Linked DNA regions of Homo sapiens: all the other regions are linked to region 1. Evidence: promoter capture Hi-C in 16 types of primary human blood cells and fetal thymus (Javierre and others, 2016). All regions are on one chromosome and are shown on one strand. Each heading gives the region's core, a stretch centred on a gene start or on the middle of the fragment in contact. The rest is flanking DNA. Distances are from core to core; before and after follow the strand shown.

Region 1 (3,910 bases), core at 847-3,346:
GGCAGGCAGGCAAAGCAATGTCAGCATCAGAATCACATGTGGACTGAGGCGCACGACTGAAACACCAGGACAGGGGAGTTGAAGCCAGGTAATAAGAAAGGAATTCAAAAGGTAGATAAAGTTCAGAATCCAAGGAGAGGAAGACCAGGTGTGGTAAAGCAACCAGCCTGCCCAGCAAGTCTCCTCGCTCAGGCCGAACACCCAGGGCCAAGCAGCCTTGTGTCAGTCAGGGCTCTGCCCTCCTCTCGCCAGCCCTGTTTCCCTCAAGGAGGCAGGTAGTTGCATCTTCCTCCACTCCCCAGTTCTCTCCATTTGGGTCTGAGGCAAAGCTAACACCCATGAGGGAAATGATTCATGCAATAAATTTTAGGCCGGGCATGGTGGCTCACAGCTATAATCCCAGCACTTTGGGAGGCTGAGGCTGGAGGATCCCTTAAGCCCGGGAGTTTGAGACCTGCCTGGGCAACACAGTGAGATCCCATCTCTACAAAAGACATATTAAAAAAATAGGTGGGTGTGGTGGCTAGTGCCTGGAATCCCAGCTGCTCAGGAGGCTAAGGCAGGAGAATACCTTGAGCCCAGGAGTTCAAGCTCTTAGTGGTCTTTGGATGACTAAACTTCAACACATCTTAGCTCAAAATCTCCGATCACACCACTGCATTCCAGCCCGGGCAACAGAATGACACCCTGTCTCTAAATAAATAAATAAATAAATGTTAATTGTGTAGCTATTATGTGCCAGGCACAATGTGGAAGGAAGGGGATACATTAGTGAATAAAACAGATCCTTCCTGCATGGTACTTAGTTTCTAAATGGAGACACACCATCAACAAGCAACCATAAATACGTTCTTGCAAACTGAGAGAAGTGCTATGAGGAAAATGTACAGGATGCAGGGGTGGAGGATGAGGAGGTCGGCTACCTTAGATGCCGTGGTCACAGAATGGCTCTCTGTAGGAGATTTTGAGCTAAGATATGTTAAAAGTTTAGTCATCCAAAGATCACTAAGATTAGTCTATAGTCTGACAACTTAGTAACTATTGACTTATGGCAGGGCAGAATGGGTGAGGGGAGGGAGGAGTCGTTGGGTTAGGTTCCTCTTGAAGGGCTCTAATAAGACCCTGATAGACCGACCAGGTTACAGTCCGATGGTCATAATCCAGATGAGAGATATCAATCTTTAACTGGGGTCCCGAGCATATGGGGTAGAAATAACAAGGGTTGTTGATGGATTAGATGTGGGATTTGAAGTTTAGGTCTACCAAATCCCTGGGACCCTTGCAGTCAGCTCTTTCTTGGGGAATGGGAAGTGGGTTCCAGCAACCTGAATTCAAGTGCATGACGAAACCAGAAAAAGCAAACGCCAAAATCAAAACTCGGAGCCTCAGAATACCTGCCAATAGATGCATATGCCCCAGCTTTCCGTGGAGGGCAGTTTACCAGAGCCCAGTGCAATTCCTAATTTCCATAAAGAACCCACATACAAATAAAGTCTGTCTAGTTCACTATGGTTAAGGTAGTCAGGAAGTGTGCCACATTTTACAAAATTTTCCACCCAAAATGTTTTTTTTTAATGGTGCTTAAAGGAAAAATTCTCATTTACCTGGAAAACTTAACTCCCCAAAGGGAAGTTTCGTTCAGATAGCTAAAGCATGCCAATCCCAGTCCCCAAGGGAACTGCAACAACGTCTCACCGGGCGCACTGCCTTCAGCAGTCACTTTCGAGTTTGTTGCCAGGTGTCCGAGCGGGTTTGAACGTCCGCGTCAATCCACACAGTACAAACCGGAGGAGGGGCCGGGACCACGCTTCCCCTCCAGGACTGCCTTTTGTACGTGTGTTTTGTTTCTGTTGCTAAGGTTTAGGGAGCTGCCCGGCTACCCTCACGGATTCCCATGGAAACTACCACCTCCCAGAGGACAGGAGGAGAGGCGAATTCAGGGTCCACCCACGGGCCCCGCCCAGGGATGGGGTCACTGAGGGTCCGGGCAGCGAAGGGCGGGGCCCGGGAGCTGGGCATGGGCGAGGCAGGCGCGAGAGGAGAGGGGCGTGGCAGGTCCGGGGCGGGGCCTGAGTGCGCCTGCGCAGTCCGCGCCACTCAGGGAGCCGGAGGGGACGCGCCGGAGGAAAGATGGAAGACTACCAGGCTGCGGAGGAGGTAACCGCCGGGTCGGCGACGGAAGGGTGGAGGCCTAGAGCCCTGGCCGCGGAAGGACACGCGGTCCTGCCCGGAAAGGCCTGGCTGCCCACCTCCTTCAGCTAGGCCAGTCTCGGCAGCCCACGGCCTGAGCTTCCCGGTCGCCGGCGCTCCGCCCGGCCCCATTCTGCCCGGACATTGCCGCCGTTTCCCCGGCGCGGGGGGCGGGAAGGGGATTGAGCTTCTTCCCGCGCGGGGAGGCACCGGGCGTGACTCGGAGAGAGCGCCCCGGTGAGCGGTGCCGAGAAACCTTCCCGCAGGGCCTCGCCTCCGGCCCGCAGCCAAGCTCGCCGAGAGGATGACATCACCGCCCCTTGCTCTGCGGGGCTGACCCCAGCCCCAGCCCCAGCCTGGAGCGGGGCGCGGCGGCCGGGCTGGGAGCGCCGAGGCTTGGACGTCTCCCCGCGGAGGTGCGGGTGACGCTCCCGCCGCCAGCCCCTCCGCCCCGGGCTGGCGTCCCGGCCATCCCGCGCCTTTGTCTCGGGCCTCACCTGGTTCTGCAACGCTGGGAATGAGTAGCACATTTCATTTCCGTTTAATATGTCTGTAAGAAAGCTCATTGTTGTGGGGAAAAAATCATCTTTTATGCCTCCTTGAGGAAGTAGGATAAAGCCCACGATGTCGCCAAGCAGAAGACACCCATCGGCACCGTGTGCGTTAAATGGCTTTCCTTCAAGCTCACGGTCATTCGGGGAATAGAGCTGATGGGCGCAGCTGAGATACAACACTCATTTTCTTCTTACTGAATAATCCTTGTTGAAATTCAGATAGAGCCCTATGGATTTATTATGCAGCCTGTCAAAAATATAAACTATAGATACATTTGGTAAGGTTGGATATCTTACCATTTATGAAATTTAGTGGCTGGGCGCAGTGGCTCACGCCTGTAATCCCAGCACTTTGGGAGGCCTAGGCGGGCGGATCACCTGAGGTCAGGAGTTCGAGAGCAGCCTGACCAACATGGAGAAACCCCGTCTCTTTTAAAAATACAAAATTAGCCGGGCGTGGTGGCGCATGCCTGTAATCCCAGCTATTCGGGAGGCCGAGGCAGGAGAATCCCTTGAACCTGGGAGGCAGAGGTTGCCGTGAGCCAAGATCGCGCCATTGCACTCCAGCCTGGGCAACAAGAGCGAAACTCCGTCTCAAAAACCAAAAAAAAAGAAAAAAATTTCGTTTAAGGAGGAATGTTTTCAGGGAAAATAAAACTAAAACTTAAGGACTGATTCTAGAGTTTCAGTTTTGATCTGATTTCCTAACTAGCACACACTTCCTGTGACAGTGGCATAATCAGTGTTTGAATGCTGATGGCAACCAAGTGAATAATGACGAGAAGAGCTGGTTCAGGAGCAGTTGGCAAAGAAAAAAGCCTTTCCCCTTAAACTGTTACTAATATAATATTGGAAAATGTCTTGTATTACAGTAATATCGAGTAAAACTTCTAAAAAAGAAATCGCTTTGTAAAGGAAAGCGCTTAATACTGCAGTCCGATTCTGACTCCCACAAATAAGGTGGCTAAGTGGCTTCATTATTCGAGATCTCAATCGCATATGTGTAAAATGAAGGGGCTGGACAGAGTGATGAGTGTTCTACCTGGGATGGAGGCCCTGGGAGGTGGAGACCATGGCTGTCTTGTAGTAGGCATGTCTTAGGTATTTACTGAATGGCCCGTTCTGGTCCTCCCACCAGCCTCTTAGCAGCCTTTTCTGCATCTCTT
Region 2 (3,840 bases), core at 14-2,513, 1.1 Mb before region 1:
CTTATCACAAGCCAGCTTTGCGGACTGCAATCTTTCCCCGACTTGGCTAATCAGATGCTACTTGAATGAATTAAAATGTATCCATCTTGAAAAGATTTTTCGCTCATAGTTTTAAATTACGGTTTTAAATGTCCACAACATGTTTATCTATCGTAGAAAACTTAATGGTCAAAATTTTAAAATCCAAAAAACGAGAACTTGCGATGGATCTATGACGTCCACTTATCTTCCGAAGCAATGGAATTAACTAAAACTAGATAAAATAGGCACAAATACAACTTCCAATTGTAACATACTCATAGAAGTATTTCCCTACCAGACTAAATAATAGTTTTTTTGTTTTGTTTTGTTTTTTTTACATAATCACAGTTATGCTAGTCCTTGATAATGTTAAGCTAATCCTTTGGGATCAAACAACCAAGTGACTTTCTTATCAAAACAAGAACTCGGGCTTTTCCATTACGTGTACACAGACTTATGAAAAACGGTGAAAAAAAAATCTAGTAACTGTCTCACAGGGATCCAAGGTAAGACTTGGATTTCACAAAAATCTGCAATAATTCAGTTTCTTTCCTCAGAATGCTTATACTCATTTAAAAATGGAAGTCTACAAGAGAACGTAGTAACATCCTACTGCGTGACATGAAATGTAGGGAACGAATGTTTCTTTTTTTCCTTGCTGAACTCGTTAGTGCCGCCAGGTCCTCAGGAGAGGCCCAAGGGAGGTGAAGGGGGCGACCCCGAGGCGAGGAAAAAACGAGCGCCGCCGCTCAGCCCGGGGAGGGCATCCTCCGGCCTCCGTGAGTGGCCGGTCTCTCCGGCCGCCAGAGCACCCCTCTCAACCCGGGCCTTGGGGACGGAGGACAGAGATAAAATGGCCTCGAAGCGGCGGAAGTGTTCCCCGCAGGCGGGAAGGTAGAGCGGCTCACGAGAGACCGGTGCCGCACCAGGCCCGTGTGGCCTTTCGGGCCCTGCCCGCCCCTTACCCGCCGGGGGCGGCTGCGCATCAGCCCTCAGGCCCCGGAGGTCCCCCGCGTCCGCTCCCGCCAGCCGGCCCGCGCCTACCTCTCCAGGCAGAAGCCGCGCCGGCGCCACCGGTCGCATAGGCCGAGGCCGCGCTGCTTGCCCTGCCGCCCGGGCCCCCCGGGCCACCGCGCAGCCGGACAGCTCTGCCGCCGGCCCCGCCGCGCTCCTAGTCCCGCCGCAACCCCTGCGCTCCCCTTTATTTGTGGGTCTCGCTGCCACAAAATGGCGCTGAGGGAGGAAACCAGGCCCCGCCGCCCGGCCCCGCCCCGCCGCACGGCTCCGCTCCGCCCTGCCCCGCCCCACAGCCGGTCCGAACGCGCCGCAGGCCAGCGCCACTGCCTCCCGCCTCCCGCCTCCCGCCTCCCGCCAGCCTCCCCGCTCCGCCATGTTCGCCTTCTGGCCCACTCACAGGAGAGTCGCCTTTCAGGCGTGGCCGCAGTCACTCGCCCGCCGCCGAACCCCGCCAGGAGAGGAAAGGTGAAGGGAGGGAGGCCGTCGGCCTAGCCCGATCGGGGCCTCGAGGCACAATGGAGCAGCTGCTCCCCGGTAACACTCCCCGTCCTTTCCCAGGAGCCTGGCGCGAGCTCCGCGGGCCCCGGAGCTCAGCAAGCTCAGTAAGGGAAGCGGCCGAGGGGAGGGGCGGGCCAGCGAGGTCGGAGGTCAGCCCCAGGGCATCACGGGAAGGGAAGGTGGAAGTACTCGCCGGGGCCACCTGCGGCTGCGGGGCTGCCTCGTGCGGAGGGATCTGGGCGAAGGCGGCGCGTGATTGGCCGCTCTGTGTTCGTGACGCTCATCCGTGATGCTTCCGCGTGTCGGAGGACCAGGTGCCACCTCAAGAGAGAGGCCGTGGGCGGCGAGCCGCGGGCGTTTACTCTTAGCAGAAGCTCACCTGTAAGTTTTGAGAACTTAGAAACCGATGCCTTCCCTCTCATCAGTCGTGAGGCGCAGTCTCCTGGCCGCTGGGTTCGTTCCTCCTTGACATCTCTGGAGACGCATCGAGGAGCTATTGTTCTCTGGCGTCGGAGGTTGCGCTGTGTCCGCGGCGTTGAGGGCCCCTTGCTAACTGGAACACGGGGAAGGCGGCCCTGTGAGGTTTAGTGAACTCAATCAAAGAGGTCCTGCAAGTGGAGTAGACTCCCTGAAGTAAGACTGCCATCTGGACCGCCGAGTAATGGCGGTGTTACCTGGAGAACGTGAAACAGTCTCTAAACACTTACTAGAAGAGCACGTAATTCTTTTGATTGGTCTGTCCTTAGCCGGCTTTATCAAACCTGTTCATCCCCAAAGGAGTGTCTTGTAGTAAGGTGATTTATTAGGATAAGATTAAAGTACATTCCAGATGGTCGTAGTATATTTCCAGTGAATCAGATCGGTCTGGAGAAAATCTTTGCAACTCGTATCACAAGAGCTCTCAAAAATTGAAAACAAAAAGTGCAAAAGCCAAAGGAGAAAATGGGGAAGGACATGAACAGATGATTCTCAGAAAAAATACCGTAATGGTCTTTAAACATAGAAAGTCGCTCCACCTCACTTACAATGGAAATACACGTTGAAATTACCTTTCCTGGTGGGAGTGGAAAAATGGTTCAAGTTCCACGGAGTACAAAATTACTTGTGTTTATTCTTATACCTTGCAGTTATACTTCTAACCCTAACCTTATTCTGAAGGTGCAGCTCCACACATGGAAACAATAGGTATACAAGGTTATTGCAGTGCTATTTGTCATAGCAAAAGTTAGGGATAACCCAAATATCCGTTAATAGGGAACTGATTGGGAATGGTGCATCCATACAGTAGAACACAATGCAACCATTAAAAAGATTCAGGAAATAATCGTGTGTTGCTTTGGAATGAGTCTCAGGTTGTATTAAGTATTCACTTAAATATTTAAGTGTAGTAAGTATTCACTGTATTCAAAAGCAAAAATAAGCATATATGCTTTTATGTATTTACTTAAATACATAAAAATATATATTTATATTTAATATGAATATTTATGTGTATATGCTTATTTTCGGGGAGGAATTGGAAGGATATCCTGGAAACTTAACATTTTTAGTTGCCTATAAAGAGTGGGGGGTGGAGACAAGATTTCTCTGTCTTTGAACTTTTAGTTTTACATAGCCAAAAAAGTAAATAAAAAAGGAAACAAAGTAAATCCTAAGGTTGAAAGCAAATTGAAACAAATGAACTTAACTGTTAACTAATATAACTAAGATACACAGAAAAAATAATTATTCTTTGGGTTTTTTTTTTTTTTTTTGAGACAGTCTCACTGTGTTGCCCAGGCTGGAGTGCAGTGGTGCAATCTCAGCTCACTGCAACCTCTGTCTCCTGGGTTCAAGCGATTCTCTCAGCTCAGCCTCCTGAATAGCTGGGATTACAGGCATGCGCCACCATCCCCTGCTGATTTTTGTATTTTTAATAGAGATGGGATTTCACCATGTTGGCCAGGCTGGTCTGGAACTCCTGACCTCAGGTGATCCGCCTGCAGGTTGGCCTCCCAAAGTGCTGGGATTACAGGAATGAACCACCACCACTGGCCCCTCTGAGCTTTTGAACACAGTACTCTAGTAGTGTATCTGTGTTGTGATAGTGTAGTCTTTCCTTATATGCAGGAGATTGGATTTAGGACCTTCTGCGAGCATATACAGAAATCTGCATACTAAAGTCCCGGAGCTGAGCATAGGGAAAGTTGGTTCTTTGTGTAGGTGTGTTTTGCATCCCACTGTACTTCTGTTTTGTTTTCTTCCTTCCTTCCCTTTCCTTTCTTTTTCTTTTCTTTTTTTCTTTCTCTCCCTCTCTTCTTCCCT
Region 3 (3,624 bases), core at 982-3,481, 1.3 Mb before region 1:
ATACAAAAATTAGCCGGGCGTGGTGGTGCACGCCTATAGTCCCAGCTACTAGGGAGGCTGAGGCAGGAGTATCGCTTGAACCTGGGAGGTAGAGGTTGCAGTGAGCTGAGATTGTGCCACTGCACTCCAGCCTGGGCAACACAGCGAGACTCTGTCTCAAAAAGAAAAAACGAATATGCCTAGCCCCTAGTATCAACAGGAGCTCAGAAACAGTCATGTGGTTTAAATAATCTCTCTGAAAATTTATGAAGAATATTCCAAAAACTATTATGTACTCTGGTATGCACCCTGGTTAAACTATCACTAGATATGTTTCCACTAAAGTAAATATTTTTTAAAGACTATTTCATAATAAACTTGAAAATCGTATAAATAACTGACAACAAGTTTTAAGAAATCACATGTTTGAAACTAAAGGATTCTAAATTTCTTTTCAGATTAAAGGCCAAGCCCCTAGAATGGCCTAAGCTAAAATCATTCTTAAAATTAACTTGATATTAAAGTTTAAAAGCACCATGATCACATTATAGAACTAGAAAATGGTTTCAGAAGCAATAAAATTATTACAGACTAAATAAAATGTAATGATATCTTTGAGGAATAATAAATTTTTTGTCTGAAAGTTTGTCTGTTAGAAAATTCTCTACCTGAAGTGAACATGTACAGCCAGAATTAGGAAACTATTCCAAACAGTATGGTTCATTTAACAGCCAAGCAAATGAAACCATTCAGCTGAGATTCCCAGAAAAAGCCTACATTCTAGACTAAGTTATCTGAGCTTACACAAGTAAAGACTTAAGAAAAAAGCCAACAGAAAAAAAAAAAAAGAGATCAATATATTCAATCAAAGAGAAAACTAAGCTGTAACAGTAAGATGTTAAATGTTAGCAACAAACAAGCTTCTGGAAGAAAGTATCTGCAAGCTGTGTGGAAACACCGTCTTCACTCAAACACACACAAAAGAATGTGTTGAATACATTTTCTGAAAGAAAGAACTTCAGGCCATGCGCAGTGGCACATGCCTGTAATCACAGCACTTTGGGAGGCCAAGGTGGGAGGATCACTTGAGGTCAGGAGTTCGAGACCAGCCTGGCCAACATGGTGAAACCCTGAATCTACTTAAAAAAAAAAAAAAAACACACACACACACACACACACACACACAAAAATTAGCCAGGCATGGTCGCGCACGCTTATAGTCCCAACTACTCGGGAGGCTGAGGCACGAGAATAGCTTGAATCCAGGAGGTGGAGGTTGCAGTGAGCCGAGATCGCACCACTGCACTCCAGACTGGGTGACAGAGTGAGACTCCATCTCAAAAAAAAAAAAAAAAAGTTCTGCAGCAGGATAGGTAAGAAAGCCCAGTGAGCATTTTCCTGAAACTCTGTCAAGTCTTCTAAAAGTCACTGACTCTATGCTGTATTCCATCTCAACTGAAGGAAACCAGCGGGACACAGGAGAGGAGCGGGGAGAACTGCAAAGGCCCCCACAGAAGCGGCTTGTCCACTGGAAACAACCCAGGATCCCTGTCCGTTGTCCCAGTTGTACAAAATTCAGTGACCATCCTCAAGGGAGGCAGCCTGATTTTAGTTAAAATCACTCTTCTGGATGCAAAACCATCTTTCCAAGAACGCTGGTTCTTCAAAACCATCACTCTGGGACAGAAAATGTTCTAGAAAATCAGCAAAAATAAGTAAAATCTTTGCTATTCTATGTCATTTTTCAGAGCGTAAAACAGTTAGCCAATGGTCCCTCTCTCATTCTCAAAAAATCCAAATGCACTCCAAAGGCCAGCCTGACAGCTGGAGAGACACACATGTGCTGCAGCAGCTCCTCCAGACAGTGCTCCCCGGCTGAATCCACAGCTCCAGCACTAGCTGCCATGGCACTTCATACAGCTCAGTGGTGGCATTTTCTGAAGTGTCTGTTATCCCCAATGACACCGTCACTCTGGGACAGTAATGTCTTCCCTCCTGGAGCAATGACTGGCAGATGCAGGATCAGCATCTCTACTGATGGCTTGAGAAGGAAACTGGCCAGTGGCTAAGAACGCATGACAGCACGGCTCTCACCCACACAGCTAACATGTGAGCCAAATCTCCCCACAGAACGTGATGCCATTATCCAACCCTCCCAAGTTCCTCAGCTTTGAAGCCAAATATCCCAAGGCTCAGAATGAGGAACTTGCCCAACATCACGGAATTATAAAGTGAAGAATTAACCTAGGCGGTGTGAGGCCCACGGGTGAGTCCTTAACCAATTAGGTAAACGGCTTCATTTATTTTCCATTTAAAGAAATGGTTTTAACTTTTCAGAAAACATTTAGTTTCAGTTACAACACAAAAACTGGCAAAACATTCCACAAAACTTTAGTTTAAATCTTGTCACAATAAATGCCATTAAAAGGACAGACTCTGTATGGCATAAAGATCTCTGAGTTCCTATTATATTGCCAACCATCTACACAACTTGATTCAATAAAATGCTAGTCATATAGAAAAATTACAGTTATCCCTTCGCAGCACCTTGTAATCACAGATACAAGACCCCCAGTAGAGGCCTGGAACCAGGAATACGGTTTCGGATATGGTTTTTCCTTTACATACATACCCATGATTAAGTTTAATTTATAAATTAGTTGTAAAAGATTAACAACTAATAATAAAATAGCACAATTATAACTGTAATAAAAGGTATGTGAATGTGGCATCTCTCTCTCAAAATATCTTCATATTTTCAGACTGCAAGTGACCATGGGTAACTGAAACCTCAGGAAGTGTAACTGCTGATGGGGGGACTGGTTTATAGTCACTCACTTAATGGCGATACGTCATCAGAAATGTGTCATGAGGCAATTCTGTCACTGCTCAAACATCATCGAGTGTATCTGCACACACATAGATGGTGTCGCCTACTACAAACCTAGGCTATATGGTATGTCCTATTGTTCCCAGGCTACAAACCCACACAGCATGACGCTGCACTGAATACCCCAGGCAACTGTAACATGTGACACATATCTAAACGTAGAAAAGGTGCAGCAAAGATATGGTATAAAGGATTAAAATGGCACACTTGCCTAGGGCACTTATAATGAATGGAGCCTGCAGGACTGGAAGCGGCTCTGGGTGAGTCAGTGAGTGAGTGGACCTAAAGGCCTAGGACCTGACTGGACGCTTTCATAAGACTGGTAGCGCAGTGGGTTCGTTTACAGCAGTATTACCACAAACATGTGACTAATGCATTGTGCTACGACATTACAATGGCTACAGCATCACTAGGTGATAAGAATTGTTCAGCTTCATCCTAATCTTCTAGGACCAAGGTCATTTATGCAGACTGTAGTTTATGCAGTCCGTCATTGGCCAAAACGCTTCTCTTCTCGTTTTTAATGTCATGGATACTACTTATATCGTAAAGGCAGAATTCTCAGAATGGTTGAACCCATCTGAGGACAGCCTCTATGAAAAAGCTGTGAACTGTCTGAAGATTCAGACCACATCACATCATGCTGATCAACAGATCATATGCTTTTCCTTGCTCAACTTCTTCCCCAAGCTTAAACTTCTGCTACTCTATACTCCCAGTCCAGTTCTGCTTTCTCTTCTGCACAGTGTGAATTG

Evidence for each region. Contacts are between HindIII fragments. The CHiCAGO score rates a contact against its expected background, and 5 or more counts as called.
Region 2: the fragment with the promoter of WTAP here is called in contact with the fragment with the promoter of DYNLT1 in region 1 in 2 of 17 cell types (neutrophils and monocytes); the score reaches 9.0 in neutrophils.
Region 3: a contact is called between a fragment that was not itself captured here and the fragment with the promoter of DYNLT1 in region 1, in 1 of 17 cell types (neutrophils). The highest score is 5.4, in neutrophils.

The regions. Positions count from the first base shown.
Region 1 is chr6:158,642,929-158,646,838 of GRCh38, reverse strand. It overlaps DYNLT1 (dynein light chain Tctex-type 1), which reads left to right and starts at 2,096. Exons shown (of 5, transcript NM_006519.4): 1 at 2,096-2,157. The coding sequence starts at 2,131. It also overlaps a transcript of SYTL3 not described here. RefSeq lists silencers at 1,939-2,168, 2,329-2,658 and an enhancer at 1,782-2,725. The HindIII fragment of the contact is 7,871 bases long and covers 1-3,910 here.
Region 2 is chr6:159,724,929-159,728,768 of GRCh38, reverse strand. It overlaps WTAP (WT1 associated protein), which reads right to left and starts at 1,263. Exons shown (of 8, transcript NM_001270531.2): 1 at 1,066-1,263. It also overlaps a transcript of SOD2 not described here. RefSeq lists a silencer at 845-1,394 and enhancers at 857-1,454, 1,405-1,534, 1,885-1,974, 1,455-2,052. The HindIII fragment of the contact is 6,285 bases long and covers 1-3,840 here.
Region 3 is chr6:159,983,944-159,987,567 of GRCh38, reverse strand. The region is part of intron 1 of IGF2R (insulin like growth factor 2 receptor); the gene reads right to left. Among named protein-coding and RNA genes, the nearest start is that of IGF2R, 17 kb to the right of the region's middle. RefSeq lists an enhancer at 1-72 and a silencer at 2,777-3,071. The HindIII fragment of the contact is 2,660 bases long and covers 902-3,561 here.